Regions from separate parts of the Homo sapiens genome. Here region 2 is linked to region 1. The links are contacts of gene promoters, found by promoter capture Hi-C in blood cells and fetal thymus (Javierre and others, 2016). All regions are on one chromosome and are shown on one strand. The core of a region is centred on a gene start or on the middle of the fragment in contact, and the rest is flanking DNA. Distances in the headings are between cores, read along the strand shown. Region 1 holds the start of PRMT5 (protein arginine methyltransferase 5). Region 2 overlaps TRD-AS1 (TRD antisense RNA 1).

Region 1 (6,080 bases), core at 1,451-3,950:
TTTTGTATTTTTAGTAGAGACGGGGTTTCACCATGTTGGCCAGGCTGGTCTCGAATTCCTGACCTCAGGTGATCTGCCTGCCTCGGCCTCCTAAAGTGCTGGGATTACAGGCCTGAGCCACTGCCCCCGGCAAAAACAGCACTTTAACTCTGTGACCTTCCTTCCCAAAACACAGTCTAATCATGAGACAAACAGACAAATTCCAATAGAGGGGCATCCTACAATATACCTAACCAGTACTCCTCAAAACTACCAAAGTCATCAAAAACAAGGAACATCTGAGAAACTGTCATAGCCAAGAGGAGCCTAAGGAGACATAGCAACTAAATGTCATATGATATGCTGCATGGGATCCTGGAGCAGAAAAATAGTAACGATAATAGTGGACAAAAGCACCTCCAATCACTTCAGGCTTCATGGAGCTTTTTTTTTTTTTTTTTTTGAGATGGAGTCTCGCTCTCTCGCCCAGGCTGGAGTGCAGTGGCACGATCTCGGCTCACTGCAAGCTCTGCCTCCTGGGTCATTCTCCTGCCTCAGCCTCCTGAGTAGCTGGGACTACAGGCGCCTGCCACCACACCCGGCTAATTTTTTTTGTATTTTTTTTAGTAGAGACGGGGTTTCACTGTGTTAGCCAAGATGGTCTTGATCACCTGACCTCGTGATCCGCCTGCTTCGGCCTCCCAAAGTGCTGGGGTTTTTTTTTGTTTTTTTTTTTGAGACGGAGTCTTGCTGTTGCCCAGGCTGGAGTACAACGGCATGATCTAGGCTCACTGCAGCCTCCACCTCCCACCTCCTAGGTTCAAGTGATTCTCCTGCCTCAGCCTCCTGAGTAGCTGGTATTACAGGCGCACGCCACCACGTCTGGCTAAATTTTGTATTTTTAGTAGAGATGGGTTTCTCCGTGTTGGTCAGGGTAGTCTCGAACTCCCGACCTCAGGTGATCCGCCCGCCTCGCCCTCCCAAAGTGCTGGGATTACGGGCGTGAGCCACTGTGCCCAGCCTGGCCTTCATGGTGCATTTTTTAAATGCTTTGGTTTTTCCGACTTTCCTTTCCTCCTCCCCCTGCCCCGACATTATTTTGCTCTTGTTGCCCAGGCTGGAGTGCAGTGGCGTGATCTTGGCTCACTGCAACCTCCGCCTGCCGGGTTCAAGCAGTTCTCCTGCTTCAGCCTCCCGAGTAGCTGGCCGAGTAGCTGGGATTACAGGCGCCTGCTACCACGTTTAGGAGAGACGGGGAGTTTTCATGTTGGCCAGGCTGGTCTCGAACTCCTGACCTCAGGAGATCCACCCGCCTCCGCTTTCCAAAGTGCTGGGATTACAGGCGTGAGCCACCGCGCCCGGCCGGTTTTCCGGCTTTCATTCTTTTGGGGCACTTGCATTGCACCCAGGGTTCCCCAGAACTTATCCTACCCCACACCCTTTTCGTATTTCCTATGGCTCTGTCCCCAACGAGCTATGGTGATCTCAGTCGCATGGCCTCAGTTCTTTTCTTCTAGCGACCTCCATCCAACTTTCTATTACACAGCGCCCCCTAGACGTTCAATTCAGCATGACCAAACCCAAACCCTGATTTCCCAAACCCTCTTTCCGCATTTCTTGCTCACTGCATGGACAGAATCCTAGGCATCACCCCCTACTTTGCTTTCTCAGGACTCCTTGCCAGTCGGTCCCTAAGTTCTGCCAGCGGCGCCTGCGTGGGGTCTCTTGTACCGTGTTCTCCTCTCCATCCTTGCTGCCGAGCCCTCAACACCAGTGGGCCCCCTGCCTTCTGGAGTTCCCATTTACCTCCCTATGTCTTTCCTTGCTTCCTTCCTTTCCATCTCTAGCAGCTAATGACATGAGAAAATGTAGATTCTCTCTGGCCTCCATGCCAGCCAATTTCATGACTGCTGCCCACTGTAATTAATGAATTCCTTTTCTCTATCTTGAGGTGTGTGTGTGTGTTTAGGCGTTTATTTACACCTTTTGTGTTTGAAACACAAAACACTACTTCCTAGAATCACTAGGAAGTAGTAGCTGAGTTAGCAGTTTATTTTAATATGTAACATAGTAAGGTGACAAAGCTCATTTTAATAGCACCAGCCATTAACCCAGTTTTCTCAGTGTTCATATGGACGTAAATAATGACACAAGAAAAACACTTTTGAGGGTAGTTACGGGAAAAGCTGACATTACATGGCTGCATAACCCAACCGACTCAGGATCTGATAATGAAAGCGTGAAGATAATAAAGAAGCATCAAGCTGCGAAAGGAAAGGAAAATTACAAAATGCTCACGCAGCGAAGCTGCGAGGAACCCCACCGAGCCAGCCAGGAGTCGAACCTGGAATCTTCTGATCCGTAGTCAGACGCGTTATCCATTGCGCCACTGGCCCTGAGATGGCACTGTTTCTCTCCGTGATGGTACTTCAAGGTTATACTGCAGGGTTTCATGGGCGGTGTAGTCTCTCAACGGCGTTCTTCAGATAGACTAAGCATTCTGGGAGATTGAAGTTCGTCAGGAACCAGACCCTGAGATTGGTGGATCCATGCCGTACGCCACTGTGCAGCCCGCGGATTGGCAGGAAAAGCCACTCCCCATCCCTCCTGTTCGGGAGCTGTGGCAGACGCTCTGGTTGTTAAGGCGACTCGTCCCGCCTTCTGGGGCACTAGTTTGACTTTGTGATTGGCTACTAGTATCAAGGAATCCCGGCGTGGACAGCGCGAGGAGAAAGATGGCGGCGATGGCGGTCGGGGGTGCTGGTGGGAGCCGCGTGTCCAGCGGGAGGGACCTGAATTGCGTCCCCGAAATAGCTGACACACTAGGGGCTGTGGCCAAGCAGGGGTGAGGGCCGGACCTCCACGAGCGGAATGCGGGGTCCGAACTCGGGGACGGAGAAGGGCAGACTAGTCATCCCGGAGAAGCAGGGGTGAGGGGGTCGGCTAGGATGAGGAGGGGAGAGACTATTACTCTTTGGAGGGGAGGAGCCTCGGACCCAGTAACGTGAGGAAAATAACTTGTGGGAGGCCTGTGGTCACTGAGTCCCAAAGTTGGGAGAGTTGTTGGGTAAACTCTAAAGGGCCCTGGAGGTCGCGATTATTGTCTGGGAGTGGGAGGAGGTGTTAGGGGGCAAGGGAGAGAAGAGGCTAATTTTGACGGGGGAGGCATGGGCAGAACTGGGGCAAATCTGGATGTGATGGTCTTGGAAACATACTGACACCTGAGGAGAAAAAAATTCTACTTGTGGATATCCATCATTTTCTCCTTACTCATATGTCCCATGGCTGTGTTTTAGGGAGAAATTGAGGCACAGTACAGCAGAGTTGATATCCCCCAAGGTGGTCTGAACTCAGCAGCCTAGTAGGCTGAACTGATGGCAGCTGAAAGGGCTGTGCAAAATCAAGATAGCCTAAATCCAGTTGCTTGGCTCTCTGGCACTGCTGCTGTCTTTACATGATTCTGGGTCTGTCGCGGTTGTAGGTTTGATTTCCTCTGCATGCCTGTCTTCCATCCGCGTTTCAAGAGGGAGTTCATTCAGGAACCTGCTAAGAATCGGCCCGGTCCCCAGACACGATCAGACCTACTGCTGTCAGGAAGGGGTAGGGACCATCCCATATGCCCCTTAATTATTAGAGGCAATAACAACTTCTGCTTTATCGGGGCCCTCATTCTCCTCCTTTTCTGACTTGGATATATTTGTTAGTCCCTGGGATATAGATAACTTGTTTTCTCCTTGCTTCTCTATTCTGCATCAGGCTATCCCATGTCTATGTAGAAAAAACCTTTGTCTCTCATTTCTACTCTTGATTCCCAAAACTAAAAATTGAACAAGTAAAGTGCTGAACCTTATTCAGTATTTGTCTTTCTTGGGTGGGGGAGTGCAGACTGGAATACGCTAATTGTGGGAAAGCTTTCTCCATGGATTCGTCCAGACTCAAAAGTGGAGAAGATTCGCAGGAACTCCGAGGCGGTAAGACTGTTTGACTTCTCTGCTGGATTTTTCTAACCAAGCTGGGTGGGGAGAGTGGTCCCCTCCCATCCCCAATAACTTGGTAAATTAACTGATAGAATGAAATTAAAGCTATTAGGCTGGGTGCTGTGGTGCACACCTATAATCCTAGCACTTTGGGAGGCTGAGGCTGTAGGATCACTGGAGCTCGGGATTTCGAGACCAGCCTGGGCAGCGTAGTGAAACCCCATCTCTATAAAATATACAAAAATTAGCCAGGCATGGTGGTGCATGCCTGTGGTCCCAGCTACTCAGGAGGCTGAGGAGGGAGGATCAGTTGAGCTTGGGAAGGTCAAGGCTGCAGTGAGTGGAGACTGTGCCACTGCACTCCAGCCTGGGTGACAGAGTGAGACTTTGTCTCAAAAAAAAAAAAAAAAAAGCTGTTTGCTTGTTAGCTCAAACTTTTCCTCTTCATCTCCGTTCCAGGCCATGTTACAGGAGCTGAATTTTGGTGCATATTTGGGTCTTCCAGCTTTCCTGCTGCCCCTTAATCAGGAAGATAACACCAACCTGGCCAGAGTTTTGACCAACCACATCCACACTGGCCATCACTCTTCCATGGTATAGCTGAGGGGCTCCTTTCCTGCTGCATATCATAGTAGTCAGATTGTGCTAAGTACCTTCTTGTGCCTAGCCATTCAGTGAAGGGTGTGTTTGGCAGAATTGAAGTATCAGTATTGGCGGGCACAGTGGGTGATGCCTGTAATCCCAGCACTTTGGGAGGCTGAGGTGGGCAGATCACTGAGCTCAGGAGTTCGAGACCAGCTTGGGCAGCGTGGTGAAATCCTGTCTGTATAAAAAACCAAAACCAAAACAAAAACAAAAAAACACAAATTAGCTAGGTGGGGTGTCACACGCCTGTAGTCCCAGCTACTTGGGAAGCTGAGGTGGGAGGATGACTTGAACCTGTGAGGCGGAGGTTGCAGTTAGCTGAGATTGCACCACTGCACTCCAGCCTGGGTGACAGAGCCAGACCTTGTCTCAAAAAAAAAAAAAAAAAAAGGTCAGTATTGCGCACCTCTCCATCTAAAAGTGGTATGAAGAGAGTTTCAAAACATGTAAATGTAATTATTTTGGAAACTTACGTAAGACAAGGCAGATATTTACATAAGGATCTATATATAAGGTACATGTTCACTTACAAAATTACAAATTGGGAAAAGCATATAAAGGGATTAACGAGGTCTGGATGAAGTTTTTTTTATTGAGGGAAACTTTCTGGACCCAATGAGTTCAAAAGAGAGTTCTAAAAGGGTGACTGTTCATGTGCAGTTCTGGATGCGGGTACCCTTGGTGGCACCAGAGGACCTGAGAGATGATATAATTGAGAATGCACCAACTACACACACAGAGGAGTACAGTGGGGAGGAGAAAACGTGGATGTGGTATGTCTCCCTTTGCTGCTGTACCAGGGTGCAAGGGATAGGGTGAGGGGAAGTACAGGGTGCAACCTGTAGGGAGGTCTCCTTGAGCTGTGGTGATTGGTCGGCCATATCTAGTTTACTGTACTTTTCTGTATTTGACTGAACAGGTGGCACAACTTCCGGACTTTGTGTGACTATAGTAAGAGGATTGCAGTGGGTGAGTCCATGAGAATCCTGGGATGGGTGTGGCTTCTCTTACCTCCTGTGAATAAGAATCAGGAATTTCATATATAGTATACAATTTTGCTACTTCCCCTCTGTCTCAGACTGGCTTTCTCTTAAAGAAGTAAACAGATTTTGCGCAAAGGAGCAAGGAAGGGTTTCTTGCCTGGCAGTGGTTGACAGTTTTTCTTTTGCCTCATGTAGCTCTTGAAATTGGGGCTGACCTCCCATCTAATCATGTCATTGATCGCTGGCTTGGGGAGCCCATCAAAGCAGCCATTCTCCCCACTAGCATTTTCCTGACCAATAAGAAGGGATTTCCTGTTCTTTCTAAGATGCACCAGAGGCTCATCTTCCGGCTCCTCAAGGTGAGTGGTAGGAGGGTTCTAAAGGTAGTCCAGCTATACATCTTGCCTTATTTACCTGTGTATGATCGTTTTTTCCTGTGAGGCTGACTCTTTTTCTTTGGTTTCTGGGGAGCAATTTCAGTGAAGTTGGGAATCTT
Region 2 (6,080 bases), core at 1,221-3,720, 550 kb after region 1:
AAAAACAAGAGTATGACAGTCTCGACCCTTGAGGATCTTATTATTAGAGATGGAAGTAAAAAAGAAGCATAGCAGTCAAGGCTGTATTAATTCTCCATATAAAAAATGTCTAACATACGAAGTAGGGATTCAGAGAAGGGTCACTAGCAGTTACAACAGCTGAAGACTGTATCATGGAAGTAAATATTATAATTCAAACTGCCAAAGGAATTGCAGTTGATGGTGAAATGCTCTCTAAGATGTGTGGCCTCCTAAGCCCCCGAAGTCTAGGCACTCTGCTCCAGCTGTTGTCTCCCTGAGTCGGAAGACAATGGGAGACAGGGGAATCTTCTAGGAACCCATTCATTGACCTGTAATGGTTTTCTTCCCCTCCTTAATATTACTGTTCATTCATTGATTGACATGTTCATCCATTTATTCATTCAAGAAACCTATATTGTGCCAGACCTGGAATTACAGAGATAAATCCAAAAGTATTTCATAAATTTTCACACTAGGTTGCCACTGAGTTGGAGCTTCATAGAACAGAGACAAGCCAAAATCACTAAAAATTGCTGTCTCCATCTTCAGGCACTTGTGTTAGTTTCCCGTTGATTCTCTGCTGCTTTTAGATTATCTGCCCATGGGGTTCTTTCGCTTTCTCTCTGCTGACCCCAGTGTTCTGCTGTGTTTTTTCACAGTCCGTTCATACCCTTACCTCTGGAGGTGAGGGTGAGACAAGGTTCCTGGTACTTCTAGTCAGCAGGGATGATGGTCAGAGAGAACATTTTATTGGTCATGTGGAAATAATCTAAGCACAAACAAACAAATAAAAGACCTCTGCTTTAGTCTTGATTAAAAATCCCACTAGTTTGCAATGGTGTTTGATATGCCTTGTGAGGAAGAAATTCTATTATGTCAAATTTTCAAAAGTCTGTGCTGCTGTGATAAAGATACTTACATTCCATAACCACAGAGTTCAGTGAAAAGGGGCTGTTAGGAGACCAGACAGTTTGGGGAAAGGTTTTATGTAATTTAAATTTACAGAGGGTTGGCCTCTCCTTGTGTTTACTGACAAGGAACAAGAAGCTTCAGTATCAACTCCCTAGGAATATAACCTTTAACAGCAAAGCATTTGATCAAAAAGAGCTCAGAAAAGTATTATATTGTTCACTTAATCCTCAGAATGTTTGTGTAGGAAGATAATTTGTTTAGTTGAATGATAAATCAACTCACAACCTTTTATTACTTAACTGATTCCTTTCTTTCTCTCTGATGTGGTCTTTTCTTTCAGTCAGAAGAACTTTAGACCCTCCTGGTTTTCCCCCTCCTCTCCCTTGGGCCTACTTTTTTCTTAGCAAACCACAAGAAATAAGGGTCCATAGTAGGCATTGCCCAGGGCTTGGTTTCTTTGCCAGTCCTGTAGTTGGACATTTATATTCTGGAGACAGAGGCTTCCGGGGAGCAGTTGGTATCAGATGATTTATACATTTCTGTGAGTGCTGAGACACAAGATCCAGCTGCTTGTTGGCTTAGCTGTGTCGTAGAGTTGGGCTGGATTACCTTGGTCTTATTCATAGTGCCTGGACAAACAGGCAACCCTCCATACACTATCAGCTCCAGGTCTTGGAACCAAAGTGAAGCCAAAGATCAGAGTCTGTGTCTTCCTTCCCTCTCTCTTCATTTCTGGAAACATCACAAGAAAGAAGAGAAATTCTGCTCAATTTCATGGGATTGTGAGGGTGTTGTCATTTGGAGTCTAATGTGGATCAGTGGGAACCACAGCCCGTGAGCTTCCCACATCTCCCTTGATCCCCCGTCATGTCATGTCTTCTCTGAGCTTAACTGAGTTTAACCCCCAACTTGCAAGCCAGGAACTGGGGAACGGAATTTAATTTTCCTTGTGCATCTACTGCATGCCTTCAACTTCCCCACAACACTGACTCATATAACTTTCACAGCCAACCAAGGTATGTATTACGTTCTCGTTTTATGAACAAAGAGGACCTAGGAGGTTAAGTAACGTTCGCAAAGTTTTAGAGCTAATTGTGCTAGAGATAGAACTTGAATCTAGATATAAAGTTCTGACAATTTCTATGACCATATACAGCGAAAAGGAAGGAGTAGGCCAATTCTCCTTCTTCCTCTACCTACCACTGTCTTTGTGAAAGGGTCAAGCAATGCTGGGAGGGAGGAGATTCCTTAGCTGTGTCCTTTCCCAGTAGCTCCACTCCCCAGGCCTCCACCACATGTCATGAATCTAATCACTCCAGTGGTCAGCTTCAACTTTCAGCAGGTGCTGGGATTTGGCCAGGGCTTGCCCTGGTAGTCATGTGAAGGGAACAGCCCAGTCACTGTCACATCCTTAGCAGCCCGCTGTCACTCCCAGTGTCCTTAGGGCCAGAACTGACCAGCATCCCAGAAATTCCTGAGCTGAATCTTGTTCCCAGGGACTACTGAACCCCTGAGAAGGAGGGTGGGGGAGAGCCAGATACCCCCACCCACCACTGTGCTTTATCCTCTGACAGGCTGGACCCGAGTGAGGAAGATCAGTGGCAGGAGTGACCTCCAGCCAGACTCCTTCTGCCCTTCACTTTCCCACAATGGGAGGGTGGACCCGCTTGCTCTGGGCCAGTTTCTCATGGGCTTCTCTGAAGCAGGTACTTGCCGATGTGGGAATCCCCATACTCTCAGGGGACCCTGAGATGTTGGGGACTTCCACCCCTCAGAAGAGGGAGGTGATAAAGTTGGCTGGGACCTGCAGGCTCGTCAGCCTCAACTACGTAACAAGTGGCAGGGCTTGCCTGCTTGTGAGAGGCTCTGTTGTCTTTGGAACAAGTTGAAGGAATTGACATTAATATTTTTGAAGTAAACATAGGCCCTGGAACTCAAGGCACAGGCCAAGCACCCCTCAGGTAAAGCTGGGGCCAAGGTGAAACAAGCAGATGCAGGAAGTGCAGCAGACGAGTGGCCAGAGGACAGGTGTAAACCCCAGAGAACTGGTCAGGACTGACTGCAGAGAGGGTGGCAGACACCGTCACTTCTGGCACAGGCTCAAAGGGGTTTGCAAAGAAAGAAAAAGGAAGAAGTGTTAAGACAGTCTGACGGGTGATGAGTGTTCTATTAGGGTGGGATTTTTGCATGTGGGAGAGGACTTCTGATTGGTTTTCAAGTAAACTTTTCAATCTTTGATTCGTTTACTATGTATTGGTAATACATGGGGATTTTCCAGGCTGGGTAGGCCCATACGAGTTTTCCAGTTTTCACTGAATTTGAAAATATGGTCGTCTGCTTTGGGTCTGAGTCTCACATAAGCAATTCTCAACCCCAACTCTGCCTTCTAATCTTAGGTCTTGGGCAAGACTGTTAACCTTTCTGGGCCTCAATTTCCTTGTCTATAAAAGAAAAGGGTTAAACTATGTGATCATCTGGAAACCAACTCTAGGTGCTGAGAAGGCAGAGGTCCCTTCCAGGTGGCCCACCCCTTCCTCGTCCCCTGCAGTCCTCAGGCAGCAGGCTGCCCTTCTGCAATCAGTTTACTTCTGGAAGCTGCTGTAGATACTCAGCCTAATTGGATTTTCCGTGTGTAAAGATGTGAGTAGAGTCACAGAGAGGTTTCCTCCAGGCTCTGAAGGCCTCCAGGATCACTCTGGATGACAAATAGAATTTAATCAGTTGATCAGTGTGCCTAAATCCTCTTGTCATGGTGGTGATGTTTGCAGTTCAATTTCATTTTTATAGAATAAGGGATTCAGTGATTTGGTGAGAAAGGGAGGTGTTTCTTTTGTAACCATGATATTGCCATATTATTTAGCCCCGATTTGAGTGTGGTTCTCTGTTGAGCACCATCCCCAGTGCATTAAATGGAAAGAAACTTCTCTCTTGAAGCTTCCAGTCTGAATCAGCAAGGTGGTTCTCATATGAAAGGTAGACAGATATACAGGCTAGTGCAAAAACACCAAAAAGTTAAACCTGCCTTCCCATGAAGTTGCCATATCTTTGACATTGTGAACAAGCACCAGCAGACAAGTGAGCAAGGAATTAACCATGAGAGTAACATTCCTGTCCCAAATTCAGAGCCATTAATGGTTCAGGAATAGGTCTAGGAGTGCCGAGGTCCTTAGCTGGCACCATCAGCCTACTCCTCTCCCTGATGGATGTGAATAGAGGAAGGAAGGAGAGATTCTTTAATAGACAACTACTGAACAGGAATTTTACATTTACTCTTCTTTTCTACATCCCACTTTTGTAGATGAAGAACCTGAGGCTCACCTTGCTTAAGTGACTTGAGCAGCTTCACGCATCTTGTAAGTAGTAGAGACAGAGTCAAAACCAGATCTTCCTGCCCTCTCTATCATATAAACCACTTACACTGAATTACAAAGTGAAACTGATCTATGGTGAATTGTACTAATGTTCTGCTTCTGCCATGGGCACCAGAGGAGATACCTTTCTTTGTTGACACTAATCTCAAAGGCTAAATTAGATCCCCCAAACTCATTTCCATTAATAACATGTCAAAGGCTTGTGTCATGCGTTAATTTATCCAAAGTGATCTTGATTCTATTTACATTTTGGTGCCACCTTTTAATGTCACCATTTTTATAAATTAAATATGTAATATATAAAGCCAGTCTTCACTTACTGATATGTTAATTTTTAACCCAAACTTCTTAGTCTGACATTCCAGCAATACCGGAGCATTGACAGTTGATAATAGCTCTATGTGCTACCTCTCCAAGAAACAAATTTGCATTTTAACCTGCCCCTTCAATGGCTGAACTTCAAAGGGTCACTGATGAATGCCACAGCAGGTTGGTGGGAATATAATTCTTTTTATGGATAATATTTGTGTGTGTATGTGTGTGTGTGTGTTAAATCCTACCACATAAGTCACTAACCTATGGGTAAGGCCAGTCTTGACCTAAAATGAGGAATTCTGTAAAATTTCAAATGCAAATCACATTTTATTTTTGATGTTAGAGAAAACTGCAAATTGGAACAGCAGAGCTGTGCCTCTGGCCATTTCCTGGAACTACAGAGGAGCAACTTGCCCCGGTTTCCAGTGGGTGATGTTCCTCTTCTGCCACAGTCCCTGGCGATGTTGATGTGATTGCCATCAGAGCTCAGAAGCACAGAGCAGAATCATCCCCTGGAGGAGGATTCCCTTCAGTGTAAGAAGTTCTTACAGAATTAATCCTCAAAGACTGTGGGTGGACTCTGCCAGGTTTTTCCCCGGGTGTACCAGAAGAGAGGAAGAGCCCTCAAATACAGGAAAGTGCTCTTTTCAGTGACAGTAGTTCTTTTGGGCCCTGTGGCTAAGTGTGCTCCCACCCCAGCAGTAAGATCACAGCTAATCCTGAGAGGCAAGAGCTCACACCAGGCTACTGAAAGAAAAAGTGTCCTTTGTGGATTGCAAGAGGAACTGGGACACACTGCTGGAAATGAAGTGGCAGGTCATAAACTATCATAAACTCAGGAGGAGAGGTGTTCCTTTTTGAGACACTCATCACAACTAGAGAGAATGCAGCTAAGAAAATGCAGTCTTTAGGGGGACCTGGACTGTTGAAGTATTTGAGCTATTCGGAGGAAATAGAAACTTGGAAGAGATCTTTGTTCCACTATTATTTGGCAGCCCCTTACCCGCAGCTGCCATTACTCCAGATTCTCTCTGATGATCCTGCATCAGGAGAATGAGTTGACTGGGCACCACTGGGAAATGTGGGCAGCTCCAGGCTGAACTAGAGAAGGGGCATGTCAAAGGTCACTTATTTGTGGCTTGACCCTTTGGAGGCCAGATGTAAGAATCAATTTCTCACAGGTCCCATGCTAACGCTTTTCATATTTATTTCCATCTGAGACTCACTTAGGCTAGGCAAATATCCCATGGGTCTGTACCTCTCCAGTGCTTTCTTGCTCATGTAAAATTAGCTCATTGGAATGAATAAAGAGAATGGTATTACTTTGGCTCGAACACGAATGAGCACTTTCACTTTGTCATAGTGTAAATATTAAAGTTGTAAGAGACAGCCCAGGGACCAACTATTTTTTTTTTAAAGATCCAAGTGCTTGCATAGTTTCTAAAATTCTACACCGGGGAA

Evidence for each region. Contacts are between HindIII fragments. The CHiCAGO score rates a contact against its expected background, and 5 or more counts as called.
Region 2: a contact is called between a fragment that was not itself captured here and the fragment with the promoter of PRMT5 in region 1, in 1 of 17 cell types (naive B cells). The highest score is 6.3, in naive B cells.

The regions. Positions count from the first base shown.
Region 1 is chr14:22,925,996-22,932,075 of GRCh38, reverse strand. PRMT5 (protein arginine methyltransferase 5) reads left to right here and starts at 2,700. Exons shown (of 17, transcript NM_006109.5): 1 at 2,700-2,824; 2 at 3,461-3,579; 3 at 3,865-3,950; 4 at 4,416-4,550; 5 at 5,262-5,374; 6 at 5,521-5,570; 7 at 5,780-5,943. The coding sequence starts at 2,715. PRMT5-DT (PRMT5 divergent transcript) reads right to left here and starts at 2,467. Exons shown (of 3, transcript NR_110002.1): 1 at 2,324-2,467. It overlaps TRR-ACG1-3 (tRNA-Arg (anticodon ACG) 1-3), which reads right to left and starts at 2,375; the gene lies at 2,303-2,375. It overlaps LOC124903285 (a long non-coding RNA gene), which reads right to left. Exons shown (of 2, transcript XR_007064073.1): 2 at 5,174-5,615. RefSeq lists a silencer at 2,247-2,336 and enhancers at 2,747-2,856, 4,915-6,080. The HindIII fragment of the contact is 19,261 bases long and covers 1-3,892 here.
Region 2 is chr14:22,380,557-22,386,636 of GRCh38, reverse strand. It overlaps TRD-AS1 (TRD antisense RNA 1), which reads left to right. Exons shown (of 5, transcript NR_148361.1): 3 at 4,232-4,286; 4 at 4,657-4,793; 5 at 4,963-6,080. It also overlaps TRA. Among named protein-coding and RNA genes, the nearest start is that of TRD-AS1, 99 kb to the left of the region's middle. RefSeq lists an enhancer at 2,274-2,983. The HindIII fragment of the contact is 2,799 bases long and covers 1,071-3,869 here.